Regions from separate parts of the Homo sapiens genome. Here region 1 is linked to region 2. Evidence: promoter capture Hi-C in human tissues and cell types (Jung and others, 2019). All regions are on one chromosome and are shown on one strand. The core of a region is centred on a gene start or on the middle of the fragment in contact, and the rest is flanking DNA. Distances in the headings are between cores, read along the strand shown. Region 1 overlaps ATP11AUN (ATP11A upstream neighbor lncRNA). Region 2 holds the start of TUBGCP3 (tubulin gamma complex component 3).

Evidence for each region. Contacts are between HindIII fragments. The study calls those that stand out against the background at their distance.
Region 1: a fragment that was not itself captured here is called in contact with the fragment with the promoter of TUBGCP3 in region 2 in 2 of the 25 tissues and cell types used here (pancreas and spleen).

What each region holds. Positions count from the first base shown.
Region 1 is chr13:112,673,808-112,679,782 of GRCh38, forward strand. ATP11AUN (ATP11A upstream neighbor lncRNA) reads left to right here. Exons shown (of 3, transcript NR_164109.1): 2 at 5,370-5,831. Among named protein-coding and RNA genes, the nearest start is that of ATP11A, 13 kb to the right of the region's middle. The HindIII fragment of the contact is 8,066 bases long and covers 1-5,975 here.
Region 2 is chr13:112,584,989-112,591,204 of GRCh38, forward strand. TUBGCP3 (tubulin gamma complex component 3) reads right to left here and starts at 3,165. Exons shown (of 22, transcript NM_006322.6): 1 at 2,917-3,165. The coding sequence starts at 2,992. It overlaps LOC124903251 (a long non-coding RNA gene), which reads left to right and starts at 3,198. Exons shown (of 2, transcript XR_007063945.1): 1 at 3,198-4,428; 2 at 5,026-6,216. RefSeq lists silencers at 2,636-2,755, 2,786-2,845, 2,876-3,095 and an enhancer at 3,161-3,980. The HindIII fragment of the contact is 4,898 bases long and covers 83-4,980 here.

The DNA.
Region 1 (5,975 bases), core at 811-3,310, 88 kb after region 2:
TACTAGAGGCCCCTCTGCTCCCTCTCATGTGGCTCTCCACAAAGCACGGCAGTTTCCTCCCTCAAGGCCAACAGGAGCATATCTCTGCAGCCTCAAATCGCTCTAACTTTCCCTATCTTTTATCCAGGTCCACCCAAGATAACCCTCCCTTTGACTAGCTCAAAATTGACTGATTAGGGATCTTAATTCCACTGCAGAATTCCTTCATATTTACAAGAGAATGTAGCCTGATCAGGGGAGAAACATCAGCCTCCGTTCCCACCAAGGAGAGGGGACTGCACGGAGCCCCCGAGCATGGGGTGGGAACATTGTGAGCCCTATCAGAACTGTGCCTCCCGAAGTCCCAGAGACAGAAGCGGCTCAGGAATGAGGGGAGCACGGCAGCACTGAGTCTACAGGGTGGATGCGGTTTGCCCAGCACGGAAGGAAGATGTTCCAGGGGGATGAGACAGCAATGCTGAGAAAGGAAGGAAATCTGGGTAAATATGTAGAGGTTGGCCACATTATGATAGACTGTGACGACCAGTTGGAGAATTTTGTATTTCATGCTATAAAAAGCAACCAAATCTAGTTAATATACGCTAAGTTGGGTAACAGGATCAGATTCTTTACAGTAAAGCTTACAAAAGTAAAATTATTTTATAATTGTATTATAGCAAACAACAGGGTTTAAAAATGGTCCCTTAAAAATGAGCCTTAAAAATAAGCAGCCACTTAATACTCATTTGGGCCTGAAAGCCACAAAGCTATTGACATTTTCTTTCTGCTGAGGAAGTCTTGGTGGTATCGATTCTCATACAGCAGAGATCAAGACAAACATCTTGTACCTCCTCTTCCCCACCTGCCTCTAAAGCAAACGCTGATCTGATGACATTGTCATGAGGCCTGCTCACCCTCAGCAGCTTCCTAGTGTGTCCTGGGTGTGGGCATCCAGTGCCAATAAATGGAGGAAAATGGGCAGACAGGGAGAGGTGGGAGCAGGTGGGAGGAAAGGAAGGGGGGAGGGAGGGAGGCGGAGAAAGGCAAGCTTAAGGGAAAGGTGGGGCATCCTGTCATGCTAGGGTTCACGGAGTGGCAAGAGGTTCCCAGCCCTGCCCGCCGCTGACCCCGGCTCACATGGCCTCACCAGCCTCGCATCAGTCATGGTTCCAAGTCCTCAGGAATAACAACAACAACAAGAGTTAATTTTTTTTATTTTTCCATTGTAATTTATATGGAATTCTGAACAATGGAAAATCAGAGCCCAAACAGGTGACAAAGAAGTTCATTAAGAGCCTTGCGAAACTGAGAGCACATCCAGAATCCCTCTCGCACTTATATCTGTGAAAGACACGACCTCTGGCCAGTCTCCCACAGACACTCCCCATTCCCTATCACGCAATGTGATGTACTCACTGCGACCGCAGGCCTGCTCCTGCTTCCCATCACTTCACCCGTCCTGTTCAGCAGATGCTCCCCTTGAAGAGCTGGAAAAAATTGGTGTTTAGGAAAGGCCTTGAAGATAGAAATGAATGCAAATGCTGTTATTATTATTAATAATATTTCAAAGTGGGCACACGGAACTCGATGACATTTTAATTGTTTGATTTTATTGGACAGGAGGCAAAAGACTTTTTATTTTTATCTTCAAAGTCTAAAGGCGCGTCAGGTGCACAGACTGCAGTAGGGTTTGCTCTGGGTGTTGGGTTCTGGCTGACGATGTTTGCTCAAAAGCTCATTTCTTACAGCTTCTGAAAGTAGATTGAAGAAAGCGCTCCCCACCGTAGCCTCCGTGGTGCAGAGATTCTCCAGGCATTTGCTTGTCATGTGAGATGTTACACTAACCCAAGCACTATAATTTTACTACCTCCTGCTAAGCTAGTCCAGAGATTGATCATTTCTATCCAGAACTGGCAAGCCTCCCTTCCTTTATATTTCAGATTGAAGAACAGGAGAAAAAACTTTCAGAAAATGATTTATAGTGGAAAGGTACTGGTTTAAACTTAACCTACTTGCTATTTGAAACAAGTTCTTTTAATTAAAGTGAAATTCTCTGTGTAAAACATCATTTTAAGAAATTTTCATAATGCATTTTGCTTTTTTAAAGTCTTGTATTTAGTAAAATGCAAAAAGTCTAGTCCTTCTGAAGACTCCCTCATAACATCTCCTCACACACCCACTTGCACTCACACCTCCAATCCAAAGGTTCATGGGGATACTTTGTTATCTAATTTTGTTGTCAATGTGATTCATAGGTTTTTGGTTTTGCTATCTAGTTGTTCTGTTTTAATTTTGGGATTTAGAAAGATTAAACACTATGCCACCACCACGTTTCACTTTGAACATTTTGAAGACAAATATTTCCTACCTGTGACTAACATATCCAGCCAAATTATCCATCACTATAAGGTCAGAAAAATATTTTAACTGCTGATGTTTCATGCACCCTTTCCCAGGAAGCTACTAGAGAATACAGTCCACTAAATTAAACCGATAAATCAAGGAGGAAGAAAAAATCATGGAATGCAGAAAATAAGGGCTTATGAGAGAAGTGGAGGGAATTCCTGATACCTGTGAAGTGTAGCCAGAGTATAGAAGTATGCAGCAAGTTTAGAAACTCACCGTCGATTGCAGCAGGATGCCAAAGGGTGGCAGGAGGGATGTCTCCAGAAAAAAATAGAATGGCACTGACAAATACGAGTGTATGGCTGTGACCGGAGTATAGAAGTATGCAGCAAGTTTAGAAAGTCACCGTCAATTGCAGCAGGATGCCAAAGGGTGACAGGAGGGATGTCTCCAGAAAAAAATAGAATGGCACTGACAAATACGAGTGTATGGCTGTGACCGGAGTATAGAAGTATGCAGCAAGTTTAGAAAGTCACCGTCAGATTGCAGCAGGATGTCAAAGGGTGACAGGAGGGATGTCTGCAGAAAAAAAATAGAATGGCACTGACAAATACGAGCGTATGGCCGTGAACTAGTAGAAACTATACAGAAAGCTAAGAAAATGAGGCCGGGCACAGTGGCTCACACCTGTAATCCCAGCACTTTGGGAGGCCGAGGCAGGAGGATCACTTGAGGTTAGGAGTTCGAGACCAGCCTGGCCAACATGGTGAAACCCCGTCTCTACTAAAAATACAAAAATTAACCAGGCATGGTGGCGGGCCCCTGTAATCCCAGCTACTTGGGAGGCTGAGGCAGGAGGATCGTTTGAACCAGGGAGGCGGAGGTTGCAGTGAGCTGAGATTGTGCCACTGCACTCCAGCCTAGACAACAAAGTGAGACTCTGTCTCAAAAAAAAAAAAAAAAAAAAAAAGAAACCTAAGAAAATGAAAGATGGAGGCAATGATTATCTTCAAGGAAAAAAGGTGGTATAAGAAAGAAGATGCAGTGAAAATGCATGAACAACACAGGGGCAGCGTGTAGCACATGCACGGACATGCAGCTATGAGAATGTAATCTTGTTACCATCACAGGCAGAGATTGAATGGAGACCGGTGTGGCCTCTGTGGGGACACGTGCAGTAGAGAGAGGTAGAGGTAGGAGCACGAATGAGCTAAATATTTATCTTCCTATGTAACTGGTGCTGTTGAAATTTTCAAAATCATGCTATAAGCACATAATTTGGAAATATGGACACAATAAAGGTAGAAGAGCAAAGAGCTATGAGTGATTGTCTCTGCAGGGGGCTCTGGAGTAGGTGATGACAAGGACATCGGGTTATTCTTACAGGCCGGGTAGCACCATTTTCTTTTAAAACTATGCAAATGCAGCCAGGCGCACTGGCTCATGCCTGTAATCTCAGCACTTTGAGAGCCGGAGGCATGTGGATCACCTGAGGTCAGGAGTTTGAGACCAGCCTGACAACATGGTGAAACCCTGTCTCTACTAAAAATATAAAAATTAGCTGGGTGTGGTGGTGGCGCATGCCTGTAATCCCAGCTACTCTAGAGGCTGAGGCAGGAGAATCACTTAAACCCGGGAAGCAGAGGTTGCAGTGAGTCAAGATCACGCTGCTGCATTCCAGCCTGAGCGACAGAGCAAGACTCCAACTCAAAAAAAAAAAAAGCATTTCTTTGGCTAAAATTAAAATAAAGTTGTTTTTTTTAATTTTAATTTTAATTTTAATTTTTATTTTTTAGTATTTATTGATCATTCTTGGGTGTTTCTCGGAGAGGGGGATTTGGCAGGGTCACAGGACAATAGTGGAGGGAAGGTCAGCAGATAAACATGTGAACAAAGGTCTCTGGTTTTCCTAGGCAGAGGACCCTGCGGCCTTCCGCAGTGTTTGTGTCCCTGGGTACTTGAGATTAGGGATTGGTGATGACTCTTAACGAGCATGCTGCCTTCAAGCATCTGTTTAACAAAGCACATCTTGCACCGCCCTTAAGCCATTTAACCCTGAGTGGACACAGCACATGTTTCAGAGAGCACAGGGTTGGGGGTAAGGTCACAGATCAACAGGATCCCACGGCAGAAGAATTTTTCTTAGTACAGAACAAAATGGAGTCTCCTATGTCTACTTCTTTCTACACAGACACAGTAACAATCTGATCTCTCTTTCTTTTCCCCACATTTCCCCCTTTTCTATTCGACAAAACCGCCATCGTCATCATGGCCCGTTCTCAATGAGCTGTTGGGTACACCTCCCAGACGGGGTGGCGGCCGGGCAGAGGGGCTCCTCACTTCCCAGACGGGGAGGCCGGGCGGAGGGGCTCCTCACTTCTGGGACAGGGTGGCCGGGCAGAGACACTCCTCACCTCCCAGACGGGGTGGCAGTTGGGCAGAGACACTCCTCAGATCCCAGACGGGGTCGCGGCCGGGCAGAGACGCTCCTCACTTCCCAGACGGGGTGGCGGCCGGGCAGAGGCTGCAATCTCGGCACTTTGGGAGGCCAAGGCAGGCGGCTGGGAGGTGGAGGTTGTAGCGAGCCGAGATCACGCCACTGCACTCCAGCCTGGGCACCATTGAGCACTGAGTGAACGAGACTCCGTCTGCAATCCCGGCACTTCGGGAGGCCGAGGCGGCAGATCACTCGCGGTCAGGAGCTGGAGACCGGCCCGGCCAACACGGCGAAATCCCGTCTCCACCAAAAATACAAAAACCAGTCAGGCGTGGCGGCGGCGCCTGCAATCCCAGGCACTCGGCAGGCTGAGGCAGGAGAATCAGGCAGGGAGGTTGCCGTGAGCCGAGATGGCGGCAGTACAGTCCAGCCTCGGCTCAGCATCAGAGGGAGACTGTGGAGGGAGAGGGAGAGGGAGACGGGAGAGAGGGACACGGGGGAGAGGGAGACGGGGGAGAGGGAGACCGGGGAGAGGGAGAGGGAGAGGTAAAGTTTTTACAAAGTTTCATTGTAATACAGAAAATAAACTCTTGGTGTACCCTTGTAGAATTACACAGAAGAAAACCAACCATTCGATGCCTTTCTTCTTCCATTCCCAATCAGAAGGTTGTTTCTGACCCATTGAAATATTACCTACAAAGAAGACGGGAGCCTCCTGCAGCAGCCTCTAGTGATCTGAGAGCTGAACCAAGGTTTGAGGCCCATCTCCAGGTGGTCCTGAATATCCGTGCATCCTGGGACCTTGTTAGGATGAACTCACCAGAGGCGAGGCTCTGCGTTGCTCAATGCAGAGACTCTTACCCAGGGTGTCAGCCTCTGAAAGATACACGTGCCTGGGCCTCTTCCCTGAAGATGGACCCGGCAGGTCTGGAGGGAGGCCCCCGTGATGAATCCCGTGATGAGCCGCCGATCCGAGCTCAGGCTGCGTCATGGGACCAGCCACAAGGTTGCCTGACCTATAAAGGTCGCAGGAGTGCCTCAGGGACACAGAAGCAGTTACAGCTGCCAGGTAGGGGCTGGGGAGGGCTCCGAGCTGTGGCTGCAATTTGAAAACTGTGCGGAACCTCAGCAGGGGTGTGAGCTATCAGGAACCTGCCGCTGGACTACAGCGACCAGGAGAATACGGGTTCTGTGCATCCGATGTGGGGGACCA
Region 2 (6,216 bases), core at 1,915-4,414:
AAAACTGTCAAGCACCATTATATGTAGGTGCTTTGCTTCTGAAGGTCCCTTGAAGTCAACTGTATAATTTTTTAAAAGATACCTTATAAAAATGTGATTCATATGAAATTCTCATTAAAAGTAACAAGTACCTATTATGCCTTGATTTCATAGTACTAAAAAAAATGTATTACAAAAGCATAAGGCCAATTGTAATATGTCATCAAAGAATAAGGTAATTAATCAAATATTCTATGGAGTTACCAGATAAAATGCTCACTAATCAAATTTTTAACACCAAATATTGTAAAGGTAGTAATTAATATTGCTCCTTTGCTCACTAAGGTATAACAAATGAAAGAACAAGGTAAGCTACTATTTATAAATTCTTCAGTAAATAGCAGCATAATTTAAAATTATATCATAAATGCTTGACAATCCTAGCTATCTAGAACATAGCAAAAAGAGCATCACCTTTAATGGACTTCATGACATAATTTATTCAGAGAGGGCCGGGCGCAGTGGCTCGTGCCTGTAATCCCAGCACTTTGGGAGGCCAAGCGGCAGGGGGGTGGGGTGCAGATCACTTGAGGTCAGGAGTTGGAGACCAGCCTGGCCACATGGTGAAACCCCATCTCTACTAAAAACACAAAAATTAGCCAGGAGTGCTGGCATACACCTGTAATCCCAACTACTTGGGGGGCTGATGCAGGAGAATCACTTGAAGGAGGCAGAGGTTGCAGTGAGCCCAGATCATGCCACTGCACTCCAGCCTAGGTGACAGAGCAAGACTCCATCTCAAATAAATAAATAAATAAATTATTTATTCAGAGAGGACCCTGTCAGGATCTGAGAGCCCACTTTTAGACACAGTTCTAAATGGGAAGATAGTAGGATACAGAATTTTGCTGAAAAGAAGCTTTTCAGTCTCTTAGAAGGGACAAAACTTTTATATCAAAGAATCTTCAATGTAAAAAAAAAAAAGTTTTTGGCTGGGCGCGGTGGCTCACACCTCTAATCCCAGCACTTCGGGAGGCCGAGGCGGGTGCATCACGAGGTCAGGAGATCGAAACCATCCTGGCTAACACAGTGAAACCCCGTCTCTACTAAAAATACAAAAAATGAGCCAGGCGTGGTGGCGGGCGCCTGTAGTCCCAGCTACTCGGGAGGCTGAGGCAGGAGAATGGCATGAACCCGGAAGGTAGAGCTTGGCAGTGAGCCGAGATCACACCACTGCACTCCAGCCTGGGCGACCAGAGTGAGACTCTGTCTCAAAAAAAAAAAAAAGTTCTTAGGTTGAGAAATATCATTCTAGCTCATGATGAATGAATTTCAAAATCCAATTATAACAATGGGAATGTATGAATGTGTGGTTTATCCCTAGAAAAAAAAACTCTGGAACCACTGGTATAAGGAAAACACTGACATTAAGGTGGGTAAGTCCTAACAATCTTAGTTTTATCTGATTCCCCCTATGACGAGGAACATGAAACATGTGAAAGGAAACTCAGTCTGCTAATGACAAAAACAAACGATGGCAGGCCATGCTCATACCTCAAGACCTTTCCACTGGTTCTCTCTACTCAGAACCTTCCCCAGATGTTCAAATGGCCCTCCCTTACTCCATTCAGGTCTCTTTAAATATCTCAGAGGCTTTCCCTCACCTGCCTCTTCCCTCTCTATTCCTTTACCCTACTTTTTCGCCACAGTACTTATTGCTAATTAACATGGCTGGTTTATCATCTGTCTCTTCCAGTAGAGTGTCTGTCAGATCTGTGGGAGGAATGACTTGTGCATCTGCATCACCAGCACTTAGCACAGTTCCCGGGGGGAACTTTGAGGACGGGGTTGTCCTCAAAGATTTCTTAGATAAATAAAGTGATAGAATCAAACTTTACAAGATGCAGCAAGAACTGTGTGAAGTCACTCATTTAATAGCGACACAAAATTATTCATGATTGCCCCAAGATTATCATAGAACATCCAATGAATTATGTACAGTAATTGTCATGAAGCATGAAAGGTCAAAATGCATTCTCAGTACTTTAAATGTAACTTTGAAGTCTTCCTTCAAAAATTGAGTAACTTCTTTTCCACATTTTGGTGCTTAAGATGTAACTCAGTTGCTTCCATTACTCAGAAAATTCCCTCATGGTGCATCCTCACTCTCTGCCCCACCAACCTGGCCAAAACAAGGAGCAAGAAATGGCATCCTGTACCATTTCTTTCAAAGTACCTCGACTACAAAATGGTTTTACCTACCGTATAGGATTAGTTTTGCTTATTAGTAACAATATTCGCCATGTGAACTTTCCCAGAATAGTTTTATATCAAATCCAACCTTCAACCCTTTAAACAGTAGGAAAACACGGCAGTTACAGTCGTTAACACCCTCTTCCCATAATACTCAAGCCTGTTAAACTTTCCTAACGAAAAGGGACGATGATGTGACACTCCAGCACCCCGCATCCACCTCCGCGGCGCAGCCGCTCTCTCCACCCCACAGGATGAACCCAAAGGCGCGCAGAGGCGCCCTCCCACGGCGCGTGACACCAGAGAAGGGGGATAAATTGGCGAGCTGGCATTCCTCCCGTCCTCACTGACGGACCCGCGAGCGGAGTGAGCGGTGACTCAGCCCGCTCCGGCTCGGCTCCGCCCTCCCGCCTCCCGCCCCGGCGTTCTCGCCCCGGCCTTGGCCTCTCCACTCCCTCCGCCCCGGTCCTGGCCCCCAGCCCTCCGCTGTCCTCCCCGGCTCCCTGACCCTCGAACCCCAGCCCTCCGCTCCCTCGTCCGGGCCCCACGTCCTCGGCCCGTCCCCCAGCCCTCTGCCCGGCCCTGCATCCTCGTTCCTCCAGCCCCGGAACGTATTAGGGCTGCACGCGCAGGGAGCAGCCCCCGGGACGGGTCTGCGGGCTTCGCGTCGCCCGGCCACTCTACCTTCGCTCCTGCCCAGGATCCTGCAGCACAGGTTCTGCAGCAGAACGTTCGGCGACTTCTGGTCCGGGGTCGCCATCCTCGCCCGGAGCCGTGCACGGTGGTCCGGGCAGAGCCGCCACTGCCGCCGCACGCGCAGGGACCGCGGCCCGCGCCCTTCCTGCGCCCCGCAAGCTCCCTGCTCCTGACAGGCTAAGGCGCGGGCGCCGCCGGCCACCAGGGCGCCATTTTAACGGAACCCGCCGAAAGCGCGGGCGCTTCCCACAATGCCCCGCTTCTTCCCTGCGCCGCGGCCGCGCGTGCGGCTGCCTAAGCGTTCCCGGCCCTGTCTGGTGCATTCCCCCTGCTGCTGCCCGGTCGGCCGAGAAAGTTCCGGGCGACAGGTGGCCCGAGGCCCTCGAGCTGCGCGGACAGAGCGGCCCCGGAGTCGCGAGCGTGACGGGCTTGCTTGGAGGGCACTTGGTGGCCGGTAGCACCATAAAGGCCATAATTTGGTGTGTGGGTGTGGGGGTGTGTGTGTTAACGGCATTGGTTTGATTCACACTTCTGATGAAAGAAGCCTGTTTAAAAAAGAAAAGAAAAAAGAAGCCTGTTTAAAGGGTGCAGGGTGTTACGATTGTTAACGTGCAGTGGGCAGTTCACCTGCTACGCTATCCAACAGGCGCCCTGCTCAGGCCCGACCTCGCACTGCCGCGCGGGCCGGTCCCCCCCGGCCCGGGTAACTGGGACGTCCTGGGAAAATAAATTAATCACGTACGGAGTGAGAGAACAGGAAACCTGCCGAGAAAAAGATCGATAAGCAGACAATTACACCAAGCCAACTTCAGTGCAATCGTTAAAGCTTACACATGGGTGCACGCTTGGGAGCCGTGAGCTACCATGTTAAAAGGCCAACTTCCTAAGGAAAAATGATGGAAAGAGATCCCGAGATCCTATGAAATGGAAGAGGGAGGACAACCCAGCTATCCCAACATCCCAGCTGAGGCCAGCCACACACGTGACTGTCTGCAAAGCCCGTCGGGCCTGGGTCCAGCTCAGGTTGCAGAATTGTTGGCAAGTAAAACGTTTGTTGTCGTTCTGACTCAAAAACATGGAGACAAAGCAGACTTGTAGGGTATTACAGTCAACAACTAGACCCTACAGCTAAAGGACTGTCTCCTTGCATGATGCAACAACCATCACAGCTCTGCAAGAGCAACCAAACCACCAAGGATGCGATCACCCCTCACTGCCTTCGATACGCATTCTGTGGAAACGCTTCTAAACTTGCATCACACTCAACACGATCAGTTAGTAACTGGCTTCTCATGAAGTTATTCTCTCAGCCGCATACTACAATGTCCAGATGTCATCTAAATCCTGCCACCCTCTCCCCCACCTTCAGCTGAAACGCTGCATGACTGCATCATCTTACCTGACCAGCTCTCTCCTAGGACAGACATGCAAGAACCCCCCTCACTAACGCTGATGTTATTTGGTTTACAGATGGCTCTTACTTAAAGATGCAGCTGGAAGGTATTACACTGGTTATGCCATAGCGTCTTTGCCCAAAGAAATAGAAAGTGCTTGTCTTCCAGGAGCAATCATCTCAACAAGCAAAGTTAATAGCATTAATTAGAGCCTGTCAGTTGGCAAAAGGAATAACTGCTAATCTTTATACCAATAGCAGGTATGCTTATAGAGTAGCTCATAACTTTGGAATGCTATGGAGACAAAGGATTTTTAACCTTTTCTAGTCAGCCCACAAAAAAATGGGTGCCTTGTTTCAGAATTATGGCAAGCCATACTATTGCCAAAATCATTAGCCATTATCAAGATTCCAGGCCATTCAAAGACACTCAAAAAAGCAAGATAAGCCAGTTAGCAGGTAGTATAGCAAACAGGGTGGCCATAAACATATCTGAACAAAAAGATCAAACCATTTTGGCCTTTAAGGAAGTTAGATTTTTATGTAAAATTAGCTCAATCTAAATCTCCAAAAACAGGACGAGAAAATTGGGAAACAAAAGTGGCACATGCGCTTCTGAGACTGATGTACGGTTTGACCAAATGTTCTACTCATACTTCCAACTAAGTTACAACCATCTTTCTTTTTTTTTTTTTCTTTTTCAGATGGAGTCTCGCTCTGTTGCCCAGGCTGGAGTGCAATGGCGTGAACTCCACCTCCTGGGTTCACGCAATTCTCCTGCCTCAGCCTCTTGACTAGCTGGGACTACAGGCACCCGCCACCATGCCGGGCTAATTTTTTGTATTTTTAGTAGAGACGGGGTTACACTCTGTTAGCCAGAATGGTCTCGATCTCCTGACCTCGTGATGTGCCCGCCTCGGCCTCCCAAAGTGCTGGGATTACAGGCGTGAGCCACCGCGCCCGGTCCAGCCATCTTTCTTAACGTGCATACACGATGTGACTCACTGGAGCCCTGATAAGATTATTGATTTCTTGAGGAGAACAATGTTGTCGGAAACCTTCTCCAACTGTTGCTCACGGGTATACAGTCAGGGCTGTCTTCCCAGAATATAATGCAAGGAAACCTTGACCCAGTTCTCCATGTCATTTTCCTTTACCAGAAGGCCCTTTCGAGGTATGGCAACTAGATTTTTTCAGCTACCACCATCACAAAGATACAGGCACATCCTAGTGATGGTTTGTGTATTTTCTCATGGGTAGAAGCATTTCCATGCAGAAGAGCAGCAGCCTTGGCGGTAAGTAAAATTATCTTAGAGAAAATTATTCCGATTTGGGGAGTTCCTCAAGAACTTTATAGCAACAGAGGCACTCATTTCACTGCACAAATAATCCAGTTAGTATGCAAAATCTGGCCCATTTTCCAGCATTTCCATTGTGCCTATCACCCCAGTCATCTGGGTTAGTAGAATGCACAAGCAGAATAATCAAAACTCATTTGGCAAAATTAACTGAAGTTTTAAAACTCCCTTGACTGGAAGCTCTTTCTTGTTTTTGCTTCACCTAAGATCAGCCCTTATGGGTAAACACCAACTGTCTTCATCTGAAATTATAACGGACAGACCTATGAAATTGTCTCCAGGAAATTGTAAATCGATGATATTAAAAAGGGACAGGTTGTATTATTGCAGCAGCCTCATAAGGCACCTAAGTAAAAACTGTTATTTAGTAAAAGATTCTTTCCACAGTGAGCTCCAAGAAGCAAAAACTCAAGGAACACATACTTCAGCCAGGAGACTTTGTAGGAAACAGCATCCTTTAAAGGACTTTCTCCACCAAGGAGGAAGGAACCTTATCAGGGACTCCTAACCAACCCTTGTGCCACTAAGCTTAAAGGA